2 separate regions of the Homo sapiens genome follow, and region 1 is linked to region 2. Evidence: promoter capture Hi-C in 16 types of primary human blood cells and fetal thymus (Javierre and others, 2016). All regions are on one chromosome and are shown on one strand. The core of a region is centred on a gene start or on the middle of the fragment in contact, and the rest is flanking DNA. Distances in the headings are between cores, read along the strand shown.

Region 1 (5,773 bases), core at 1,021-3,520, 3.5 Mb after region 2:
ACACCTGTAATCCCAGCACTTTGGGAGGCTGAAGCAGGCGGATCACCTGAGGTCAGGAGTTTGAGACCAGCCTGGCCAACGTGGCGAAATCCGTCTCTACTAAAAATATAAAAATTACCCGGGCATGGTGGCGGGTGCCTGTAATCCCAGCTACTTGGGAGGCTGAGGCAGGAGATTTGCTTGAACCTGGGAGGCAGAGTTTGCAGTGAACCGAGATTGCACCACTGCACTCCAGCCTGTGCAACAGAGTGAGACTCTGGCTCAAAAAAAAAAAAAAAAAAAAAAAAAAAAGAGAGAGAATCTAGGCAAAGAGAAATAATGTTGATTCTGTTCCATATGTCAGACCTTGGAAGGTCAACTGCATGACTGTGGCTGAGACTTTGTACTTGGGAGTGTGCAGTTTTAAATCCTGACCACTATCTTAGGCAAGTCCCTTCTCTTTTCTGAGTGCCTGTCTGCTTCTTGCCCCATCAGACAGTTCTCACACAGGTTCATGGCAACGGTAAAGAATAAGATTAGACAGCACACTGGGTATGGCTTTATAATCACGGGCACTAAGTGATGATTTTTTCCTTATTCATTCCACTTGGTCTTAACTCTTACCCTTCTATTGTTTGGGGATGTTAACTGCAAAACAGGGACAGAATTTGGGCTAAAGGGTCTTTTTCCCAGTCTGGTAAATTAAGTATGTGATAAGACTTCTAGAAGAGTAGATTTAAGGTACTTTCTTTTGTGCACACTAATGGGAGGTGTGAAGGGAAAGCAGAATTGCAATTTCCAGCCTAGGGAGGCCAAGCCAGTCGGCCTTGCCAAACACGTTGTCTTGGATAAAGGAGGATTTTCAGTCCTGCTATTGGCTGATGGGGCCTCCAGTGCCTTCTTCAGCCTGTTGGTGGGGATGATGCCCTCAGAGCCGCAGAGTGAGCAGTCTCCTCCCAAGCATCGCTGAGCACTTGGGTGTGGAAGGGTTGCCTGATACTGAGGGTGGGGTTCCTGGAAGACAGGCGATCAGGTTCAGCTCTTGCCTTGCCCTTTATGGTTAAATGTTCTTTGGAAAGCTTCTATATCTTTCAAATCCTGGGGGCATTATGATCTCTCTTCTGCCTATCCCAAACCATCTTCAGCCAGTACTGTTGGGAGAATACAAGCTCCAGGGCATGGTCCCTGGTCCGTCTGGATGACCCCTCCGGATCTGGCATATAGCTGGCGCTCTATGGAACCAGATATTTATGTAAAAGCAGGGACAATGGAATGTGAAAACGTTTCGCAAACTCCAAAGCGATTCATAACCAGACAGAGGTCCAATCCTAGGGTATACGAGCTCTCTCTTTTAAGCACGTATCACAGCTGCTTCTCACGCCACCGAGACGCGGTCAGGACAGGTGCATCCATCTTCTCTGGGCTTCCCCTCTTGAAAGTAGGCCAGGGCGCGCAGGGGTTGAGGGTCTCTCATTCCCAGAGAGAATTAAACTTGGAGGAAAGCAACCACCGGCGAGGAGCGGGGCGCGTGGAAGCGAGCCGCGGTCCGAGGCCCAAAGAAAAGCCCAAGCCTCGCCCCCGCCATCGCGCCCGACGAGACACCTAGGTCCGGGGACGGGTGTGTGCCGCGGAAGTCAGGTGCACTGCGCAGCACTCCCCCGGTAGGTACACGCTCCTCCACCTACGAGTGACCTAATTACAAGGTGCCAGCCGCGCCCAGAGGTGGGGGTGGTTAATCCAAGCGGCCACTCGCTGCCCGTTCCTGCCCCCAAAGATGACGGAAACCCACACGATTACAGAGCCGCAGCACCCCAGATGAGCCACGGGGTCGCAATTCTCGTTTCCGTGATCGGACTGCCAGGCCCCAGGTGAGGAGCTGAGTTCATCACCAGAGCGGCCTTCCCAGGGGAACCAGTTACAGGCTGCCAGTGGCCCCGGCTTCCATCCGGTCTGCGCCTGCGCGCGGCCCAAGCCCTCGCCTCTCCTGGAATAGTGCTCAGGGATTAGTCCGGTTCGCCGCTGTGCGCACTGCGCATGCTCCAGCTCCATCCTTCCCTTCCCCCACCACCCCGCCCTCCGGGAGCCACGCCCAAAAAGTCAAGGCGCTTCAGTTACCAGCCGGCTACGTCGCGCCTGCGCTTTGACCCCCAGTTTGCGCCCCAACTCCGGTCGTGCGGCCGCCCGGGGAGGGCTCTGCAGTTGCGCAGCTTGCTCCCCGGCCCTTTTCCCCTCCGCTCCCCGCCGCCTCCTGACGCCGGGCGTGACGTCACCACGCCCGGCGGCCGCCATTACAGAGAGCCGAGCTCTGGAGCCTCAGCGAGCGGAGGAGGAGGCGCAGCGGCCGACGGCCGAGTACTGCGGTGAGAGCCAGCGGGCCAGCGCCAGCCTCAACAGCCGCCAGAAGTACACGAGGAACCGGCGGCGGCGTGTGCGTGTAGGCCCGTGTGCGGGCGGCGGCGCGGGAGCAGCGCGGAGCGGCAGCCGGCTGGGGCGGGTGGCATCATGGACGAGAAGGTGTTCACCAAGGAGCTGGACCAGTGGATCGAGCAGCTGAACGAGTGCAAGCAGCTGTCCGAGTCCCAGGTCAAGAGCCTCTGCGAGAAGGTGAGCTGTAGTACGGCTGCGGACAGCCGCCGCGGGGCCGAGCCCGCCGAGGAAAAGGCGGCCGTGAGGAGGGTGCAACATGGCGGAGGCCGCCGGTCCGGGCCCCCCGAGTCTCCGAGACCGGCGCCCATCCTGGCCGGCGGCGGCTTCCTAACGACCCGGCGCCCCCTGCCTCCCGCGCAGGGATTGGTTGCCGCCGCCGCCTAAAATGGCGCCGTTCACTCGACTCCTGGGCTTTTGAGTCAGCCGGCCTTGGCGCCAGACGAGGTGGCAGGGGGAGCGGAGACCCTGTGGGTCATCGTCAGGGACGGTTTTGAGGGTGAGCTGGCTTGGATTCTGCGGCTTGGGAATGGAGCCTGGGCCTCTCCGGTGGGCTGAGTAAGAGTCTTGCCGCTGGTACCCAGGCCTAGTTAGGTCCAGAGCTGCCCAGAGGATCCCCCAAAGGCAGTCTTGTTAGGCCGTATCCCAGAACATACCTAAAGGTCACACAGCTTTAGTACCCCTTGGTGGTTTGTATTAAACTCACCAAGCGATCTTCTCCAGAAATCAAGGTAAGGGGTGTCTTTAAGAATTTTTAAATTATTCTCTTAACCTAATTTTTACGAAGGTCATGGTGGTAGCTATAAGGGAGGAGTGTAACTTATTTTTCATAGTTGGAAGAAATCGGGAATTTGGTGAGTCATACTACATAAGGAGCTTTTGGATTGGAAATCAAGTGTCGGTTGAATATGATTTATATGCTGACTCAAAGCCTTCTCTAAGCTTAACACACTTGGCATTTTGCCGTTTATTTTTAAAATGAACAACATAAAATGGAAGAGCGGTAAATTTTGTATCTTTGTTGCAAAAATTACTTGATAGTATTTTGTGGCTGCAAGTAGTAGTAGTGATAATAACTGTCGACTGAGATTGTATTCCAGACATTGTGCTTAGTGTTTAAATAATGTCTCACATACACTGAAAATAGAATGTTGTAGTCCACTTAGTAACACTAAACTTTATATTAGCTAATTCCCTTTTGTTTTCCCCTGGGGGTTGGGGAAACAGGTAGTTAATTTAGCTATTAGCTTTGTGTTGTATTTTTAAATTCTTGTAACTCAGTTTTCTAAAGTACACAAAATGCTGATCTCTGCTGTGAACATTTTAACTTCCCTTTTCAAAATTAACTTTGCAGCACGTCACTTTAGTACAGAATAGTGGAGTATCATATTAGCATTTTGTATCCGTGAAAAGAATTAATGGAGAACTATTATCCTGATTTGTTTCTGGTTTGATGTGAAAATTAGGTTCATGAGTTTGACGTATATGTTTCCAAGACAGGCTTTTTTAGAAACCATGTTGTGAACAATTGGAATTTAAGTAAGTCAGATTTAGATTTGTTTCTCCCAAGCCTGAACAAAACTACTACTAGTGGATGAGGTGGCACATCATCTGTTGGAGATGCCTTTTAATGGTAGCGATGTATTGAATCTCCTGTTTCTTTACCCTCTCACGTCAAATGAGGTTGGTATTTATTTTAAAGGTTTAAAATTGGCCTTTAAAAATGAATGTATATTGCCAGGTCTTAATTTCTAGGTACTGTACATGATGATCTTACCGATTTTTGGAATTCAGTGCATTATATGAAAGACTTTTAAGTCAGTAGTTGGCCAGTTGACTAGTCTTTTGAAGAAAACGTGGAAAGGAGGGAGGTAATGACGTAACTGGAAGACTGGACTGCGAGTTAGATTTGGACATGAGTCCTTCTGCTCTTACTTGAGTAATTGTGACAGACTTTGGGACAGCCACTTCACTTGTCCTTGTTTTCCTGTCTATAAACTAAAATGTGTTCTGAGATTATACAGTCAATTCCGTTTTAAATTAGTAGTGTGTTTAATATTGAACATCTATTGAATATCTAAGATTGCATACTCTTTTGAGGGAAATGAAAAGCAATGAAGAATAAGTATGCTTATTGTCGAGGAGCTATGAATCTAGTTTGAAAGAAAAGCATGGTATGAAAAGGTGTGGGAGATGGAGCATGGAAGTAGAGGGTTTGTGTTGGAAACTGTTGTAGAAGATAAGATAATACTGGATGCTAGAGTGGGGTGGGTGAAGCTGATGCATCTAATATTGCTTTCCACATCTTTGTAAAACTAAGATGTAGTGAGGTAAATCTCCATTGCTTGCGCTGCTTACGCAAATTTTAGTTCTGAGTGCCAAAAAAGATGGAAATAATATTTGAGAGTAGGTGTTATATAAAAGTTTCTGTGGAATGGATCCGTTTTGGTGGATATCATTATACAACCTTCATACTGTTTATAACTGGTAAGTAAGTATTTCAACTTTCAGGATGATATTAAACTTCCAAACTAAATTAATTTGAAGACAGTTTTTTGGGTATGTAGAATCCATGAACTGATGTTTTTTGTACAAGTCTTTCTAGTAAAACAAAAGCTGTCTTTCACTGTTAATATTTGTGTGCCAATGGCATCTCTGGGTGAAAGCTACATATGTGCTTTTTGGTGTGATTGCCTTCTAAAGAGTAATTTTGAAAATTTGAGGGCTAATTTTTTTCATTAGTGTATAATAATAGTATTTTTTGAGAAAAAAGATACTTGTTAATAGTTGATAATTTCTTCAATCATAAGAAGGAATGATAATGTAAAAGCCTTCCTTCTACCCACCTAAATGCCTGATTTGAAGGGGAAATATTTAAATAGTAAAAATAGATGTATACCATAAGAGGTCATTGTTACTAAAAAATCCTGAGGCCATTATTTTGTTAACCCATCAACAATTAACAGTGTTACATGTTCAGAACTGAGAGAATCTAAGTATGCATTTATAAAAGACAAGAGTGAACATGGTTTTTATGTTACTGACTAGCTAAAAAGAATTTTAAGATGTGATTAAGACTTATACAAAAGCCAAGGTTGTTAGTGTATAGTATACTTTGTCATCTTGAGAATCATAATTTGTTGATAGTTTAATAATTTGGTGTGCAGCTTTGCCTCAGGCTCAGTTCTATAATCAGCATTACATCAGTATAACTGGCCGGGTATGTTTCAATCTACAGATTGAAAGGAGTAAATAGTATCAACTTGCTTTTGCATTGACTACAGTAAACAATCTTTTATTATGTGACTTCAGCTTTGTTTTAGCTTGGGTATGATTTCTTGGCTTTGTGCTTACCAAACATGTGGAGAAC
Region 2 (5,909 bases), core at 1,517-4,016:
TCTGTTGTTTACAGCCATATTGCCAGCACCAGGCATAGGATTCATATAATTGGATAAACTGAGCACTTACTGTGTACCAGGCATGTATACATGTTTACATGTAGAATCTTATTTAATTTTCACTACAACAGAAAGATGTTTTATTATTCCCATTTTAAGATAATAAAACTGATTACATTTTTTTAAAAGGTTAAGTAACTTAGCCAAAGTCACATAACTGAATGGTTACAGGGTAAGTGATAGATCAGACTAGTTTACCCTCAAACCTTAGCCCATCTATTTACCTTTGTTACAGTATCCAAACTACTTAACCTAAGATTCAGCACATTCCATAGTATCATTTCATAGTACCAAAGACCCTCAACCTATCTTACCTCTCACTATTTTCTATCTAAAACTGCCTGCTTCTCTCAAACTAACTGGCCCACTCCCTGTCTCTTGAAGCTTATGTTCCCTCTGGATTTTGCTCAAATAAACTCCCTACAGAAATCTTTTTTTTTTTCCTTTCCAACTTTTATTTTAGGTTCAAGGGATACGCGTGGAGGTTTGTTATGTGGGTAAATTGTTAGTCTTGGGGGTTTGGTGTATAGATAATTTTGTCACCCAAGTCATCAGCATAATACCTGATAGGTAGCTTTTTAGTCCTCACCCTCCTCCCACCCTCCATCCTTAAAAAAGACCTGATGTCTAATGTTCCCTTCTTTTGTGTCCATGTGTACTCAATGTGTAGCTCCCACTTATAAGTGAGAACTTGTGGTATTTGGTTTTCTGTTCCAGCCTTAATTTGCTTAGGATACTAACTAGTCTTTGGCTCTGAGGTTCAGTGCAACTTCCAATTCTTTCCTAAATCTTTCCTGAATACTTGAGGATACAGTGAGGAATTCCTCTTAACTTCTTCAGCGTTTACCATATGGTTTTGGAGGCTTTTGGTCACGTAATGCCTCATATTAACTATGTCCCACCCCATTTATCTTGCTTGGCACACAAAGGCTCAATAAATGGAAGCCATTGTAATTTTCTTCCATTCCCATCTGAGTGAGGGCACTAAAAGCAGTAACTTAGGGGTATATGATCTCTCTCTCTGTAAAACATTCGTCTAACCCAACATCTTTAAAAAGCTAACATTCTACTTTTGGGAGGCCGAGGCGGGCAGATCACTAGGTCACGAGTTTGAGACCATCCTGACCAACATGGTGAAATCCCGTCTCCACTAAAAATACAAACATTAGCCAGGTGTGGTGGTGCCCGCCTGTAGTCCCAGCTACTTGGGAGGCTGAGGCAGGAGAATCGCTTGAACCCGGGAGGTGGAGGTTGCAGTGAACCAAGATCGTGCCATTGCATTCCAGCTTAGGCAAGACTCCGTCTCAAAAAAAAAAAAAAAAAAGCAAAGTTAACATTCTAGGCCAGGCGCGGTGGCTCACGCCTGTAACCCAGCACTTTGGGAGGCCGAGGCAGATGGATCACCTAAGGTCAGGAGTTTGAGACCAGTCTGACCAACATGGTGAAACCCCATCTCTGCTAAAATACAAAAATTAGCCGGGTGTGGTGGTGGGCGCCTGTAATCTCAGCTACTCAGGAGGCTGAGGCAGGAGAACAGCTTGAACCCAGGAGGCGGAGGTTGCTGAGCCGAGATTGCGCCAGTGCACTACAGCCTGGGCAACAAGAGTGAAACTCCATCTCAACAACAACAAAAAAGCTAACATTCTAGTTCAAAGAAAGCAACACATAGATGATGTAAATTACACATAAAAAACCATTCACTGAGGTTAAATGAAAATGTCTGCTGGAGTGTGCCAAGGGGACCTGAAAGGGCCTCCTCTGAGAGGGCATCGTGGGAGGGCTTCAAGGAGGGCGGGAGGGTGGCAGGGAGGCAGGGATGTCGCGCCTCGTCTGGTTCCTAATGTCTGAAGTTCTTTTGGTTCCCTGTTGTCTTTCACACCGCCGCCTCGGGCTCGCTTTTGCGCAGGGCCACGTGGCAAAGTTTTAGTTTAACCGCACGTCGGGCCCACTGTAAACGGTTAATAACCGCCTTCGTGGACCAGGCCTCTGCCCTCCATCTTTGTGCGGGCGGGAGGTGGGGCGGGGACGCCAGGTGTAGCGGACAAGCGGAGAGGCGGCGGGTAGATCCGGGCCCCCAACCCCAACAGTCAAGTTTTCAAAAAGCCCGCGCGTGGCGCCCCAGACCGCATCCGTTGGGAATGGCCCCCAGCGCGCCCCCTGCTCTCTCCCCGGCAAAGCCCTGGGCGGGAGAAGGCGCGGGGGTGGTAGGCCGGCTCTGCACGCCGGGGGCGCCGGGGCAAGCGCGCACCGGGGAGCGCGCCCGTCCAACAGCTGCCGAAAACGGAAGTGGGTGCGAGGGGATCACGGTGATTGGCTGAACTCAGATGTCTCTCAAGGGGCTGGCGCGAACGCCACTGCGGAGTTGGGCGAGGGGATGAGTAAAGGGGAGGGGGAGAAACACTGGGAACAGCCGCGGTGCTAGGAGGAAATGAATCGCGGTGGTGCGCGGAGGGCAGGGAGGGACCCATGTCAAGGGACAGTGGGGCGCTCGGGAATGAAAGTGGGCTGGCAGAAGCGGAAGCGGGAGCGGCACAGGCCGCGGGCTTGAATAGACCGCGGAGGGCGGGGAGTCCGTGATCTAGAGCGGCGCTGCGGCGCGGTAGGCGGGATTAAGGGGAGCGAGGCGGGGATTGGCTGGTAGCCCTAGGCTGCCGTACGTCGGCGGTGACGCACGCCTCGGGGAGGGTGCGCGCGCGTTCAGCGGCCTCTTTGTGTGGTGCCCAGATAGGGGAGCGGAGGTGGCGGCGGCGGCGGTAGCGGTGGCCTTGGTTGTCTTCCAGTCTCCTCGGCTCGCCCTTTAGCCGGCACCGCTCCCCTTCCCTCCCCCTTCCTCTCTTCCTTCCTTCCCTCCCCTTCCCTTTTTCCCTTCCCCGTCGGTGAGCGGCGGGGGTGGCTCCAGCAACGGCTGGGCCCAAGCTGTGTAGAGGCCTTAACCAACGATAACGGCGGCGACGGCGAAACCTCGGAGCTCGCAGGGCGGGGGCAAGGCCCGGGCCTTGGAGATGGAGAATTCTCAGTTGTGTAAGCTGTTCATCGGCGGCCTCAATGTGCAGACGAGTGAGTCGGGCCTGCGCGGCCACTTTGAGGCCTTTGGGACTCTGACGGACTGCGTGGTGGTGGTGAATCCCCAGACCAAGCGCTCCCGTTGCTTTGGCTTCGTGACCTACTCCAATGTGGAGGAGGCGGACGCCGCCATGGCCGCCTCGCCCCATGCCGTGGACGGCAACACTGTGGAGCTGAAGCGGGCGGTGTCCCGGGAGGATTCGGCGCGGCCCGGTGCCCACGCCAAGGTTAAGAAGCTCTTTGTCGGAGGCCTTAAAGGAGACGTGGCTGAGGGCGACCTGATCGAGCACTTCTCGCAGTTTGGCACCGTGGAAAAGGCCGAGATTATTGCCGACAAGCAGTCCGGCAAGAAGCGTGGATTCGGCTTCGTGTATTTCCAGAATCACGACGCGGCAGACAAGGCCGCGGTGGTCAAGTTCCATCCGATTCAGGGCCATCGCGTGGAGGTGAAGAAAGCAGTCCCCAAGGAGGATATCTACTCCGGTGGGGGTGGAGGCGGCTCCCGATCCTCCCGGGGCGGCCGAGGCGGCCGGGGGCGCGGCGGTGGTCGAGACCAGAACGGCCTTTCCAAGGGCGGCGGCGGCGGTTACAACAGCTACGGTGGTTACGGCGGCGGCGGAGGCGGCGGCTACAATGCCTACGGAGGCGGCGGCGGCGGTTCGTCCTACGGTGGGAGCGACTACGGTAACGGCTTCGGCGGCTTCGGCAGCTACAGCCAGCATCAGTCCTCCTATGGGCCCATGAAGAGCGGCGGCGGCGGCGGCGGTGGAGGCAGTAGCTGGGGCGGTCGCAGTAATAGTGGACCTTACAGAGGCGGCTATGGCGGTGGGGGTGGCTATGGAGGCAGCTCCTTCTAAAAGAAAATTTAAAATGCCTGGGAGTGGCTATAGGGGTAGCTCTTTCCAACAGCCCAAGTGGGGTCAACTCCTAAGCCCCACCCCCTCACACACACCGCCTTCCCTGTTTTGCCCTTGGGGGAGCCACTTCTAAGGCTGCTTACCCTTGGGGGTGTTCCTCTATTTGCCTGCCACCTCTCTTGTCTCTCCCTCTGAAGATGGACTCGGCCCCACATACACATTTTTGTGTTACAGTCATTGATGGACTCTATTTTTTTATTATTACTTGGACCTTGGTCGTTTTTATACTAGCAAAATGTCTTGTTTTAATTTGTGTTTTTTGGGGGGAGGGAGGGAGTGAACTTGCTGATTCTGTAGCAAAACCTGGGTGGGGGTTGGGGTGGGGGGTAGTTTACTTTGTTGTAAGGACTTGATAACCTGGCTACAGCGTTTTCTATGAAATCTACTTGGATCCCATGCCTGAAATTTGGAAGCATATGTACAAAAATCATTTTTACGTTTTATTTTTAATAAATCATTGTGTTTGACCGTACATGTCTAACATTTTTTTTCTAGGATCCATTCCGTACCGTTTTTTAAGGGATATTTGTTTAAGACTTTACGTGTTAATTCTTTATTCTTGATGTGTACTTAGAGAAACTTAAGAGGTCCTGTGGTTTTTTTCCCCTCTCCTGTTGCCCTGCTAGTTGCGTGTTGAATTATATCCCTTACAGGCAAAACTTTTGAAGTGGTGGATGTGGCTTTTTAAACTCTTAAGTTTCTGTGCATCCATCTCTTGTACTAAGCGAATTGTTTATCATCTTGACATGGTTGGTCATTTCTATGACAATTTACTTCAAACTGTGTACTGTGTAGTTCTATATAGTTTGTGTTAAGCATGTCATTCATATAAACTGTTTAAAATTTTTCAGATGGCCTAGTTTCATCCCTCTTACTGGTTTGTCTGTAATGAATGGTTAAAAATAAGGGTTATATTTTACCCTCAAATGCGTTTTTGTACTTTCAGAGCAGGTTTAAACGTTTTTTTTTTTTTTTTCCTATATCCGAACTGTTGGCCTCATGGAAATCCCTTTCCCGATCTTTGTAGCACCATCTACTGGCAGAATGGCAGAGTAGCTGCGAAACAATTTGTTTAAAAACTTGCTTAAGACAATTGCATCAGATTTGGAAGTTTTGCCATCAAAATTCTTTGCAGAATTGGAAGTTAACACATTTGCTTGTAACTGAGATGGGCTTCACAGGAATGTAGTTGCCAGTTCATATCACAATAGCCCTTTCTATATGAGGTTTGAAAATGTAAACTGCTATGCATAGCTTGGGCAATAGCCCTAAATTGCTATGACAACTAATGAACCAGCTACGTATACTGGTATTTTAGGTGCAAGTTGTAAAGCAAAATATCTGTGTATTCTGCTTGGTTAACAAATGTATATTTGTAGCCCTTTCCTGCAATAGCATTCAAGTTGTTGTTTATAAGAGAAGAACAAAAGTGATAATAGGTGAAAATTGCCTTTCTGGATAGAAATAGAGAATAGCAACGTTTATGGATATCACAAATAAAGAATTCAATTCTTTACATGATTGAGTGAGAGTATGTATAACCTGGTGGGTGGGTTCAGAGTACCTTTTAATCTAGTATGCTTAACTTGATGTTAATATTTAACTTAAATATTTGACTTACATGTTGACGTTGAAGGCTCAAAGCTATACTAAGAAGCTTTCTGAAAGATTGGGCTTTAAAATAAAATAATATTTTAATATTGAACCATTTTTTAACTTCTTGTCACTGTTCAATTCCTAAGGTCTAGTTCTTGCCAGTTTTTTTTTTTTTTTTCCTGATTGGCAGGGCTTTTAAAGAAGTAAGAAGAAAGGTTAAGATTATTAGGCTAGGTTATAGCTGCTCAGTAGTCATTTTGACAAAGGGTAGCG

Evidence for each region. The method cuts DNA at HindIII sites, captures the fragments that hold promoters and counts their contacts. A CHiCAGO score of 5 or more calls a contact.
Region 1: a contact is called between the fragment with the promoter of PPP2CA here and the fragment with the promoter of HNRNPA0 in region 2, in 2 of 17 cell types (neutrophils and fetal thymus). The highest score is 8.9, in neutrophils.

What each region holds. Positions count from the first base shown.
Region 1 is chr5:134,222,570-134,228,342 of GRCh38, reverse strand. PPP2CA (protein phosphatase 2 catalytic subunit alpha) reads left to right here and starts at 2,270. Exons shown (of 7, transcript NM_002715.4): 1 at 2,270-2,583. The coding sequence starts at 2,482. MIR3661 (microRNA 3661) reads right to left here and starts at 2,586; the gene lies at 2,491-2,586. It overlaps PPP2CA-DT (PPP2CA divergent transcript), which reads right to left and starts at 1,933. Exons shown (of 1, transcript NR_186539.1): 1 at 1-1,933. RefSeq lists enhancers at 970-1,489, 1,331-1,490, 1,490-2,011, 2,012-2,531, 2,871-2,980. The HindIII fragment of the contact is 2,287 bases long and covers 1,061-3,347 here.
Region 2 is chr5:137,751,220-137,757,128 of GRCh38, reverse strand. HNRNPA0 (heterogeneous nuclear ribonucleoprotein A0) reads left to right here and starts at 2,766. Exons shown (of 1, transcript NM_006805.4): 1 at 2,766-5,909. The coding sequence starts at 3,063. The coding sequence ends at 3,980. RefSeq lists a silencer at 2,047-2,406 and enhancers at 2,034-2,725, 2,987-3,336, 3,847-4,006, 3,416-4,107. The HindIII fragment of the contact is 5,253 bases long and covers 447-5,699 here.